Regions from separate parts of the Homo sapiens genome. Here region 2 is linked to region 1. Evidence: promoter capture Hi-C in human tissues and cell types (Jung and others, 2019). All regions are on one chromosome and are shown on one strand. Each heading gives the region's core, a stretch centred on a gene start or on the middle of the fragment in contact. The rest is flanking DNA. Distances are from core to core; before and after follow the strand shown.

Region 1 (6,240 bases), core at 1,908-4,407:
TGCAGTGGATCATGCCTGTAATCCCAGCACTGTGGGAGGCAAAGGCAGGCGGATCATGAAGTCAGGAGTTTGAGACCAGCCTGGCCAATATGGTGAAACCCCATCTCTACTAAAAATACAAAACATAGCCAGGCGTGGTGGTGCACGCCTGTAGTCCCAGCTACTTGGGAGGCTGAGGCAGAAGAATTGCTTGAACCTGGGAGGTGGAGGTTGCAGTGAGCCAAGATCGCACCACTACACTCCAGCCTGGGCAACAAAGTGAGACTCTGTCTCAAAAAAAAAAAAAAAAAAAAAAATTAGCTGGGCATAATGGCATGCACCTGTATTCCCAGCTTCTCAGGAGGCTGAAGCAGGAGAAGTGCTTCAGCCCAGGAGGCAGAGGTTGCAGTGAGCAGAGATCAAGCTACTGCACTCCAGCCTGGGCAACAGAACAAGACCCTTTCTCAAAAAACAAACAAACAAAACCAAAAACAAGAATGAAGGAGAAAAGACGATACAGAAATCATGTGTGCTTACTTGTCTGGCCCCAAAAATACTACTGAAATAGAAGAGGTTTCTGTCATGATTTGAATAAAACTCTTGACATCATGCACCACTGTCCTAGGATGCTATTTTTCAGGGACTCAGAACCCATAATGCTGAGGCCAGATTCATTTGCATCTTCTGACCACAGAAGATGATCCCACCACCAAGATAACCAAGTACATGAGACATACATGATGTAAGAACAAAGGGAAAGACAGAACAAGGAAACAGCCAACACTGGCTTAGAACAACTCAGCACATGACAGCAGACAGGAAACAATATTACAAAAAGAATTTCTGTTTTTTGAGACGGAGTCTTGCTCTGTTGCTCAGGCTGGAGCGCAGTGGCACAATCTCAGCTCACTGCAACCCCTGCCTCCTGGGTTCAAGCTATCCTCCCACCTTAGCCTCCCAAGTAGCCAGGATTAAAAGCGTGTGCCACCACACCTGGCTAATTTTTATATTTTCAGTAGAGATGGGGTTTCACCATGTCGGCCAGGCTGTTCTCGAACTCCTGGCCTCAAGTAATCCACCTACCTTGGCCTCCCTGAGTGCAGAAATTATAGGCATGAGCCACTGCACCAGACCTATGAAGAGAATTTCTAAGGACGGTATTACAAGAACAGTCTATAGTCTATGTAGGCAGTGACAATGTCAATGAAGACAATTCCTGGCACAGGGAGGCATGAAGAAATAACAGGTAGAGGAATGAATTAGATCCCGAACCTGAAATCTGGATGAAATCACACAAACATCCACAGGACAAACAAGGTAGCCTGCATTAAGTTGCCTGTAAGACTTCTGACTCTGAATTCTTCCCTGGGAGCTCAATAGCAGGTGTTGGGGCTGCTCCAAGAATGGAGAGGGCAGTATGCATACCTCAGTCCTACCAACCAAGAACTGAAGTAGGAAGCTGTGTCCATGCTCCTGACATGAGAAAGTCTTGCCAATAGAAAAAGAGGGGGAAAGACAGAGACTAGCTCAGGTCACAGGGGTGAGTGTGGGCAACTTACCCAGGGAGGACATAAGTGCCAGGTTCTCCAGCGTCACATCACGGTACAGGCATCTCTGAGCCTCACTAAGGAGATTCCATTCCTCCTGGGTAAATTTCACAGCCACGTCTTCAAAAGTCACTGTGCCCTGTTATGATGTTGACAGATGAAACCACAAACCACCCCTATGCTGAGGTATCACAATCCATCTCTCCCACACATCTACTCTCGCACATCCTCCTCTCAAGGTCCTCAAACATAGGAGAAACTAGGCCCACTGGTCATGGGGTACAGCCACCAACAACAATAGTTAGTTGAACAAATAGGTATCTGTGCGGTGGCTGTGATATAAGAGTCCACCCCCTCCTGACAGGCACTTCCCCTAGTATGGCCGAGGTCATGGAAAGCCCAATGTGGCACCTTCAGCACAGCAGAGATACCCTCTCTGAACGCACCTCATTCTTTTTTTTTTTTTTTTTTTTTTTTTTTTGATACGGAGTCTCGCTCTGTCACCCAGGGTGGAGTGCAATGGCGCGATCTCGGCTCACGCAACCTCCGCCTCCCGGGTTCAAGCGAGTCTGCTGCCTCAGTTTCCCAAGTAGCTGGGATTACAGGCATGCGCCACCACGCCTGGCTAATTTTGTATTTTTAGTAGAGACAGGGTTTCTCCATGGTTGGTCAGGCTGGTCTCTACCTCCGGACCAACCCGCCTAGGCCTCCCAAAGTGCTGGGATTACAGGAGTGAGCCACTGCACCCGGCCCCACCCTCCACTTTCTTGTATGCGTTCCTTAAATGCTTCTACAGCCATAAAGGCCTGAGGGAAGAGGCTGACTTTACAGGACTGTGTCCCTGATAGGATCTGGTAAGCTCAGGCCTCCCTGAACGCTTTTGTGTCCACGGAGCCAGGTGACCTTGGACTATTGTCTAACCTGCGTGTCTCAGCACAAAGTGTCATCTCTACCACCTATATGATCTACAAGGATTCAATCTCAAAGGGCCCCAACGTCATCCCCTCTCTACTCTGTTATTTATTTGGCCTTTAGGAAACTTTAAAAGCCTGGACTTTGATCCAGTCCCTTCTTTCTTGGAAATTCTCCTATTTCTAGTGTCCTCGCAATGATTTCACAGCCCCCAGCCTCCTTGCTTTTCCAGGAGGAGTTCCGCCTCACAGGTTGTTCCCTACAGGCGCCTGTGGACCCCAGGTTCCATCCTCCCGGATCCGTCCATCTCCAGGCCATTGCCCGCGCCCCTCCCTGTACCTGTCGCTCTCCCCACCGCATCCCACGGGTGTCTGAAACAGGGATCCCTCCCGAGAGCGCCTCAGTGTCCCGACGCCGGGTCCGGGTTGCAGAGCCGTAAACAGGTGCCGCTCCCTCGCTGCTTTAGGACTTGTGTGACTAGGAGGTGACCGGAGAGCACGGAAGGCGCCACAATTACCTGAACGGGGAACCTTAGCGCGGCCGCCGCCATGGGACCACGTGGGGTAAGCTGGGTTGAGAGCAGCGGGCGCCGTTAAAGAGCTGCAGAGTCACGTCTGTGCAAAGAGAAGAACGACTCTCGACCTCCTGGATCCAGTCACCACCACGGTCCCAACACAGCGCTCCAAGGACTCCCTAACGCCAATGGAAATGGTCGCTACTAAAGGGCGCCGGGAGTCCCGCCTCTACCTTACTTGCGCACACGGAAACGCCTTCAATGTGAACTCTCACTGGCTCTGCCGTGCTGTCATTTGACGCAGAGCTTTCTGGGTAATGTAGTTTCCCAGGTTCCAAGGCCGTAAAGAGAGAGATTCCCAGGGGCGCTTCGGAAGGAAAAGCCCAGCTCCACCTCCGGGGCCCTCAGGGAAGCCTCCTGACCCGCACGGTGGCGCGCGCCTGTAATCCCAAATTTTGAGAGGCTGAGGTGTCAGGACTGCTTGAGCCCAGGTGGTCCAGGCTGCACTGAGCTATGACTGCACCACTGCACTCCAGCCTGGGCGACAGAACCTGTCTCAAAAGAAAAAGAAATGTTAATTAAGCGTTTGTGCTGTTAAGGGAGGAGACCACCTCTCATATTGTTTTATGCCCAATTTCTGCCTCCAAAGAAACAAGTAAAAACTAAAAGGCAGAAATGAAATCCACAGGCAGACAGCCAGGTGCCAACCCTGGGCCTGGTTAAAGATCGACCCCTGACCAAACCGGTTATGTTATCTATGGATTCCAGACATTGTATGGAAAAGCATTGTGAAAATCCCTGTCCTGTTCTGTTCCGTTCTGATTACCACTGCATGCAGCCCCCAGTCGTGTACCCCCTGCTTGCTCAATCGATCACAAACCTCTCATGTGGACCCCCTTAGAGTTGTAAGCCCTTAAAAGGGACAGGAATTCCTCACTTGGGGAGCTTGGTAGTTGGAGATGTGAGTCTTGCCAAAGCTCCAGGCTGAATACAGCCCTGCGGCTTGTCCTGCTACATTTCTTGGTTCCCTGACTGGGAAGCCAGGTGATTAACAGATAGTCGAGGCAGCCCCTTAGGCAGCTTAGGCCTGCCCTGTGGAGCATCCCTACAGGGGACTCTGGCCAGCTTGAGGGACGCAGAACCTGAGAGCACTCCCGGGTAGGCAATTGCCCCAGTGGAACACCTCGCCAGAGTGGCGTGTGGCAGGCCCCCACAGAGGATCAATGCAGCGGCTGAACACTGGGAAGGAACAGGCACTTGGAGTCCGGACATCTGAAACTTGGTAAGACTAGTCTTTGGAACTTGCCCACTCCATTTGAGTGGAAGGGTGGCCTGATCACCCACGGCATGCCTGTACCGGCACTTTGGTTTTTGTTTTTGACTTGATTTGGATTGCTTGATACTTTCGTTTTGGTTTTGACCTGGCTTGGATTTCTGGATACTCTGATTTGGATTTTGATTCTGGTTTGGTGTAAACGGTAAAAGTGTATGTGTGCCCTTTTTACCTGTTCTTTGTTTTGTGGTGTGCGTGTGGTGTGAGCGTGGTGTTTTGTCTCAAAGAAGCATGGGTCAGGCACAAAGTAAGCCCACTTCACTAGGAACTATGTTGAAACATTTCAAGAAAGGATTTAAGGGAGATTACAGTGTTACTATGACACCAGGAAAACTTAGAACTTTGTGTGAAATAGACTGGCCAGCATTAGAGGTGGGTTGGTCATCAGAAGGAAGCCTGGACAGGTCCCTTGTTTGAAAGGTATTGTGTCCAGAATTGGTTCCTTCCGGTGGGTTCTTGGTCTCGCTGACTTCAAGAATGAAGCCGCAGACCCTCACGGGCAGTGTTAAAGTTCTTAAAGATGGTATGTCTGGAGTTTGTTCCTTCAGGTGTTCAGATGTGTCTAGAGTTTCTTCCTTCTGGTGGGTTCGTGGTCTCGCTGGCTTCAGGAGTGAAGTGGCAGACCTTCGCGGTGAGTGTTACAGCTCATAAAGGCAGTGCGGGCCCAAAGAGTGAGCAACAGCAAGATTTATTGCGAAGAGCGAAAGAACAAAGTTTCCACAGTGTGGAAGGGGACCTGGGCGGGTTGCTGCTACTGGCTGGCCAGCTTTTATTCCCTTATTTGACCCCACCCACATCCTGCTGATTGGTCCATTTTATACAGCGACAGAGTGAGACTCCACCTCAAAAAAAAAAAAAAAAAAAAAAAGAAGAATCTCATTTTGAAGCCAAAACCATCAGAGTGACCATTCCAATTATGTGCTGAGCATAATTCCATCTCTTAGACATCAGTGCTAACATTTCTCTGAGGCCCTAAGTTTTTTCACCATCTACTGATGTTTCCTCAGAACTACTTCTGTCAGAACTGTTGAATAATTACCTAGTCAGTGTTTTTTGTTTTTTTTTTTCACACAGAGTCTCGCTCTGTCGCCCAGGCTACAGTGCAACGGCTCAATCTTGGCTCACTGTAACCTCTGCCTCCTGGGTTCAAGTGATTCTTCTGCCTCAGCCTCCTGAGTAGTTGGGATGACAGGTGCGTGCCGCCACGCCCAACTAATTTTGTACTTTTAGTAGAGACGAGGTGTCACCATATTGGCCAGGGTGGTCTCAAACTCCTCACCTGGTGATCCACCCGCCTCGGCCTCCCAAAATGCTGAGATTACAGGCATGAGCCACCATGCCTGGCCTATCTAGTCAGTATTAATAGGCTTTCGTATCTTGCATTTTACAACTGTTTCTCTCATGTAATTTTAATTTTTCATGCAGAACACTCCCTGCTCTCTTAAGATAAATCAATGATAATCACTTCCCATCAATGACATGAACTCATGGATTTAACAAATGCCCAGTATGACCAGATGGAGAGCACTACCTTTAAGGACTGTAGCTATTACCACTATCAAGCTACCAAATCCTTTATTGTTGTTTATATATATAAAACTGACTTCAAATTCCTAAAAGGAGTTGAATATAAGTTAGAATATCAAGTAAAGGATACTAAGTGGGTAAAAGTGTGGTGCAATTAATTGAATGCTACAATTGATTTGTGAACCCCCCAAATGTGAGACAGGTCTCAGTTCATTTGAAAAATTTATTTTGCCGGCCAGGCGTAGTGGCTGACTCCTGTAATCCCAGCATTTTGGGAGGCCGAGGCAGGCGGATCACGAGGTCAAGAGATTGAGACCATCCTGGCCAACAAGGTGAAACCACTAAAAATATAATAATTAGCTGGGCAAGGTGCTGCGCGCTTGTAGGCCCAGTTACTCGGGAGGCTAAGGCAGGAAAATCGATTGAAC
Region 2 (6,631 bases), core at 1,092-3,591, 570 kb after region 1:
CAGAATGTGACCTTATTAGGTCTTTGCAGACATAATTAAGGATCTTGTGATGAGATCACCCTGAATAACCTGGGTGTGCCCTAATTCCAATGACAGGTGTCCTTATGAAGGAGGCAAAGGGAGTTCTGACACGGAGAAGAGTGGTCCATGTGAAGATGGAGGCTGATATTGGAGTGATGCAGCCACACTCCAAGGAACACCCGGAGCCGCCAGAAGCCGGAAGAGGCAAGGAAAGACCCCCACCCAGAGCCGTCAGAGAGCACAGTACTGCTGACACCTTGATTTCAGACTTCTGGCTTCCAGGACTGTGAGAGTAAATTTCTGTTGTTTTAAACTGCCCAGTTTGTGGTAGTGTGTTATAGCAGCCACAGAAACTAATAGAGACTGGTCTAGCACCCTCGACAGAATGTGTGTGTTGTAAGGGGCTCTCCTGATCCCTAGTGATGGGGAGTCAGAGGACTGCTTAGTGTCTGAACAGAGGGTTGGGGAAGCTGGGTTGTCCTGAAGAACCAGCAGTCCCCACTTGGCAGAAAGGGACCCTGAACTTGTGGGAGGTGGGGGCTGAGGGGCACCTGCTAGCCATGTGCTAACAGCATCTTCGGATTGGTCCCCAGATGCCCTGCTCCCAGGGGTGGCTCCTCTGCTGCAACAAGAACCTGCCTCCCAGCACCAGACACAGCAGGTGGGAGCTGTGGACCATGGCCGAGTCTCTTCGTCTCCTTGATCTGCTCCCAGGATGCACTGTCCAACTATCCCACCTGTAGGTGGGTGGCATTCCAGCCATGGACCCATGATCTGAGGCTGAGCACAGCAAACACAATCGAGGCTCTGGGTCCCAGGTCCCAGGAGCCCGTCCTTGATGGTGCATTACAGCTCTCCCAGGCTGTTCTTACAGTGACCTCCCACCTGCCCCAGGTGAGCATGCTTGCACCTGGGTGCTCGCCCAGCCTTTCTAGTTGTCCTTAGGGCTTCTGGTGTTGGGAACAGGATGCAGAGTTACCAATTTAGGGGGACTGAGAGGTTAACGTGGCCAAGGCTGAGCCCTGCAGAACTGCAGAGCAACAGCACACACAGGAAAGCTAGTGAGGTTCAACATCCTCATGGAGGTTGCACACGGCACAATGAGGTCTTATTTGCCCAAGAGAATGTGCAGGGAAGTCGCCAGGCACGGTGGTGCATGCCTGTAATCCCAGCTACTCGGGAGGCTGAGGCTGGAGAATCGCTTGAACCCGGGAGGCGGAGGTTGCAGTGAGCCGAGATCGCGCCACTGCACTCCAGCCTGGGCAACAAGAGCGAAACTCCGTCTCAAAACAACAACAACAACAACAACAACAAAAACAGAATGTGCAGGGAAGTCAACGTTGGTGGCTCTGAGGTGTGGAGGACACAGGCTAGTGCCCAGCTCAGCGTGGCTCCACCTCTCTGAGCCACAGACCAACCTCACCCACACTGACAGTCCCAGGGGACACAGACTCTAGCCCCTATGTCCAATTCTACACTGTGCACGCAATGGGAAGAACAGTGCATCATGCACTGTACAGCAGAAGAAATGTCCTCTGAGTGCAGGCACAGCTCCCTTCTGTGTCTGTCCTCCCGACAGTGCCTCCACCCTCAAGGATTAGCAAGCTTCAACCCTCGCAGGACATCCACTGTGTCAGGGCCAAACGGTGCTGCATCCTGCTCTAATAGTGAGTGAAGGAGGGGACCGCAGACAAGAAGAAATGAACAAGAGACCGTTTAAGAGAGAAAAAGACGTGAAGAACATCAGACAGGGAGCAGCGCGAGGGCGCCAGGGAGGGAGGCAGCGGATTCTTCGGGCCTCTGTGAAGAGGGGGCATGAAACCGGTCTGCAGACAAGGAAAGAGCAAAGTGCAAAGGCCAGGATGCGGGGGCAGAGACGGTAGGGAGGCCGGCGTCGGCCTCGGCTAGCAGGTGGGCTTGACTCCGAGAGCCGCAGGCCGCCAGGATGGGTCCCGGGCCTGGAGCCTCCCCTCGCGGGCTTCAATGACACCCAGCACGGAAACGCGGGGGCCAGAACTACAGAAGCCCGTCCCGCCCGGAACTCAAGGTCGCGAGTGCTGTGTGGCCGGTCCGGACCCGGAGCGCGAGGACCGGAAGTGCGCGGCGTCACGCCTCTGCCCCGGACCCCGCGCGCGGAGGTGGAGAGGGGACTGGGGTGGTGGCCGCGCTATGCGCCGGGAGGTCCCCGCCTCGCAGGCCGAGGTTGCGGGTCCGCGCAGAATGCCACTTACTCTCTGGAGGCGGCCCGCACGGGTCCCTGGTCCCCGCCCCGCATGCAGCGCGGAGCCGTCCTCCCGCCACCTCCGGGCCGCCGCGGCACTGAGGGACCCGGGCCACAGCAAGCGCAGGCGGGAACCCGCGCGGGGACTGCTGGGAAACGTAGTCCCGTCATGTCCCGCTTTGACGCTGCGGAGAAAGCGGTGTAGGGAGAGGCTTGGGCTTCGGTTATCATAGAAACAGAGGCCGGCTACACCTAAAAGGCGGGGCGTGGACCTAAGTCGTCGCCAAAGAAACGGCGTTCTGGACGGGGACGTAGGGTCCCGCCCATTCCTTCTCGTGAAAGCGGGTGACTGGTCATGATTATGATTGATAGCCTCCTCTCCCAATCTGATTTCTAAGAGGTCCCAACCCGGAACCGACTTGCGGTTCGCAGGCTCCCCTCGGGTGGGAGAGTTGGGCTGGGAAGCACCTGGGGAGCTCTGAAGTGTCTTGGTGAGCGCGTTGCGAGTCAGACCGATAACATCAGAATCTGGGACTGGGCCCGAGCATATGCGCGTCAAAACTCCTCAGTTAAGTCTATTTTTTTGTATTTTTTTTGGTTTGCTTTTTTGAGACGGGGTCTCGCTCTGTCGCCCAGGCTAATGCAGTGACACCATCACGGTTCACTGCAGCCTCGACCTCCTGAGCTCAAGCGATCCTCCTACTTCAGCCTCCAGAGTAGCTGTTAACAGGGGCGCGCGCCACCACGCCCGGCTAATTTTCTTTCTTCTCTCCCTCCCCCTCCTTCTCCCCCTCCCTTCCTCCTCCCACTATGTCGCCCAGGCTGGTCTCGAACTCCTGTACTGAAGCGACCCTCCCACCTCACCCTCCCGAATAGCTGGGACTATAGGTGGGAGCCACCATGCCTGGATAGTTTTTTTATTTTTATTTATTTATTTATTTTAGAGATAGGGTCTCCATATGTTGCCCAGACTGGTCTGGAACTCCTGGGCTCAAGCGATCCTCGTGTCTCAGCCTTCCAGAGTGCTGGGAGTACAGGCTTGAGCCACTGCGCCAGGCCCCTAGTCCGGCTCCTAGTTGATTCTAACACGTGCGGCCCCATTGGGGAACCACAGCCTCCCCAGCCCCTTTGGGTGTTGCTGACTCTACGGGCCCTCCCAGGTAGGATGAACTGGTCACGCCTCCTACCCATTTGTAACCCCCAGCTCTTGCCCCCATCTATTGTGTGGCTCCTGCCCTCAATAGGGACATCTAATTTTGTTGGCCAGTCCAGCACATATATTGCATGTAACGACCCAGTTTGCCCCACCTTTCTGCCTCCACTGCATCTGCTTCAGGGATGCTGGGACTGTTCCACTCCCTTTCTCCATCCTTTGGGTGTCTGCACATCGAAAGCCTTGTCAGGAGGTCTATCTCCCTGCCCAAGTACAAAACTCAGGGCTTACCAAGCTAATTGAGGGCGAGCAGGAGGCTGAAGGGCACTTGGAGGGCTGCCCGCCTTGTGGGTCCCTTGGTGGCTGAAGAGAGTTGCACAGGAAGGCCTTGACAATTGTCACAGAGAAAGGAGTGCAGCTGCTGGCTCTGTGTGGGTGTGCAGATGTCTGACAGGTTCAGCCACTGGCCCCAATTGGGACACAAGTGGGATTTCTTTTTTTTTTTCTTTTTTGAGACAGTCTTGCTCTGTTGCCCAGGCTGGAGTGCAGTGGCCGCGATCTCAGCTCACTGCAACTTCCGCCTCCCAGGTTCAAGCAGTTCTCTGCCTCAGCCTCCCGAGTAGCTGGGATTATAGGTGCCCACGACCTCGCCCGGCTAATTTTTGTATTTTTAGTAGAGATGGGGTTTCACCATCTTGGCCAGGCTGGTCTTGAATTCCTGACCTCATGATCCACCCGCCTCGGCCTCACAAAGTGCTGGGATTCAGGCATGAGCCACTGCACCCGGCCTGACACAAGTAGGATTTCTCACACCTGTGGATGCACTGCTACTGGAGGAGTCTTGAGCCTATGTGGAAGAACTTCCCACTCCCAGGCACAGAAAGGGCCTCCCTCTGGAGTGAAGATTCTGGTGGTACCACAGGCCTGGCCACCACACAAAGGCCTTGTCCCTGCAGGGCTGGCATGGGGTGACTGGCAGCCCTGGAGTGGAGTTTGAAGCACCAATGAAAGGCCTAACCACTTGGCAGGCACAGGTGCGGGGGACTTGTCTGGAGGGGACCGGCTATGGGGGCTGTGACAGTCTGTAGGCTTTCTTCACTTCTACACAAGCCTGTTGTCTAAGTGGACCCTGCAGGGTTCATGCAGGGGCAGCACCAGAGAAGCATCTTGTGACAATGGTTACACAGGAGCGATTTCAGGAATGAGACTGAATCAGGCAAGGACCTGGAGAGGAAGCTCCAGTGGGGCTCCCACCCAAGGGGTCCAACTTTACCAATCCCACAGGTCCCCAGTCTGGGGCTCATTCTATGTCTGTAGGCCTGGGACCCTGCACCCAGGAGAGTTGTCCTGCTACCGGCCATCCCTCCGCAGAGGTCCCCCTCTGGCTCTATGCTGTCTTCAGCAAAGGGCCTCTGCTCCATTTCACACCTCTCCTGAGGGCCTGGGGTAGCTTACTGCGAAGCAGCCTCAGGGAATAGAGGCTTCAGCAGGGCATCTTGGCCCCCAACACAGAATCCTGGTTGTAGGATCTGGAAGAACAGAGGAGAAATGGAAGTTGGCAGTTCCCAGGAGGGGAGAAGGTGCTGGTGAGCCACGAAAGCAAACCCCAGTGGCTGAAGCATCCTGGATGACTCGGCCACATTTCCTTAAGAATCTTTGTGTGTGTGTGTGTGTGAGACGGAGTCCCATTCTGTCACCCAGGCTGGAGTGAAGTGGTGCGATCTTGGCTCACTGCAACCTCCACCGCCCAGGTTCAAGTGATTCTCTTGCTTCAGCCTCCCGAGTAGCTGAGACTACAAGCGCCCGCCACCACGCCTGGCTAATTTTTTTGTATTTTTAGTAGAGATGGGGTTTCACTGTGTTAGCCAAGATGGTCTCGATCTCCTGACCTCGTGATGTGCCCGCCTCGGCCTCCCAAAGTGCTGGGATTACAGGCATGAGCCACCATGCCCGGCCCTCTTCTGTCTCTTATAAGGACACTTGTCATTGGATTTAGGGTCCACCCTACTAATCCTAGATGCTCTCATCTTGGGATCCTTGACTAAATTACATCTGCAAAGATTTTTTTCCAATAGGTCACATTCGCTGGGTCTGGGTATTAGGGCATGAACTTACCTTTTTGGGGGCCACCATTCAATCCATTACAGGTGGGCATCCCATAGAAGCAGACAGTGGCTAGGCCAAAGTAGCCCATGAAGTATCAGCCATGGGCACAAGATCAAGTTTGGGATGCGGCAGGGCCAGGCTTGGCTCTGCCAGGCAACTGGGTGGACTGAATCCAGCACACTCCAAACGAGTTGATAATCAGGCTGGGGACTTCAACAGACAACCAAGGTGCCAGTAAAGGCATTAAGGAGCTATCACGGCCAGGTGCGGTGGCTCACACCTGTAATCCCAGCACTTTGGGAGGCCGAGGCAGGCGGATCACGAGGTTAGGAGATCGAGACCATCCTGGCTAACAGTGAAACCCCATCTCTACTAAAAATACAAAAAAAATAGCCGGGCGTGGTGGCGGGCGCCTGTAGTCCCAGCTACTCGGGAGGCTGAGGCAGGAGAATGGCATGAACCCAGGAGGCGGAGCTTGCAGTGAGCCAAGATTGCGCCACTGCACTCCAGCCTGGGCAACAGAGTGAGACTCCGTCACAAAAAAAAAAAAGGAGCCATCACAAGGATGTAAGATCAGCTAACAGTAAGACTGTGGCTGGTAGGGTGGACAGGCAAAGTGACTGCCTGGAGAGTGGGCAGGTGGCCCAGCAGGGCCCAGAGGGTGCCTTCCCAGAAGTGAGGAGTCCAGTCTGGGGCCGGCCACTCAGGATGGACACAATGTACCAGAAGTGAGGTAGATCTCTGCAGAGTCTCTGGGGTCCTCATCCAGTCTGAAGAACACAGCACCAGCAGCCCTAGATCTATGAGGTCAGACTCTGCATCTTATCGTAGCACCTTGGGGACCTGGGGAGGCTGGACCACCCTGGACCTGGTGGCGGGGGTGGGGGGTGCATGAGTCTCGGCTCTGCAGTATTCACCACGCCACACTTGAGGGCACCTGCCCTCTGCAGCACGATGAGTCATTCTCATGAGGTCTGTAAAGATGTCCATTATCAAATGACCATGGTAGCCAGGCCACAGGGTTCACATTGACGTTGCCTCATTGCATTCTCATTTCCACACTGAAGGGGAAAACAGGTTCAGAGGGGTGGGCTCACTGTCCTGATGAGTGCTGCCTGTTTTCTCCCACC

What was found. Contacts are between HindIII fragments. The study calls those that stand out against the background at their distance.
Region 2: the fragment with the promoter of ZNF837 here is called in contact with the fragment with the promoter of ZNF552 in region 1 in 1 of the 25 tissues and cell types used here (small bowel).

The regions. Positions count from the first base shown.
Region 1 is chr19:57,811,756-57,817,995 of GRCh38, forward strand. ZNF552 (zinc finger protein 552) reads right to left here and starts at 3,158. Exons shown (of 3, transcript NM_024762.3): 1 at 2,956-3,158; 2 at 1,539-1,665. The coding sequence starts at 2,988. RefSeq lists enhancers at 1-425, 3,433-3,482. The HindIII fragment of the contact is 37,727 bases long and covers 1-6,240 here.
Region 2 is chr19:58,378,689-58,385,319 of GRCh38, forward strand. ZNF837 (zinc finger protein 837) reads right to left here and starts at 2,342. Exons shown (of 3, transcript NM_138466.2): 1 at 2,253-2,342. LOC105372484 (a long non-coding RNA gene) reads left to right here. Exons shown (of 2, transcript XR_936130.2): 2 at 97-337. RefSeq lists enhancers at 1,066-1,607, 1,424-1,653, 1,608-2,149, 1,684-1,743 and a silencer at 2,094-2,603. The HindIII fragment of the contact is 47,170 bases long and covers 1-6,631 here.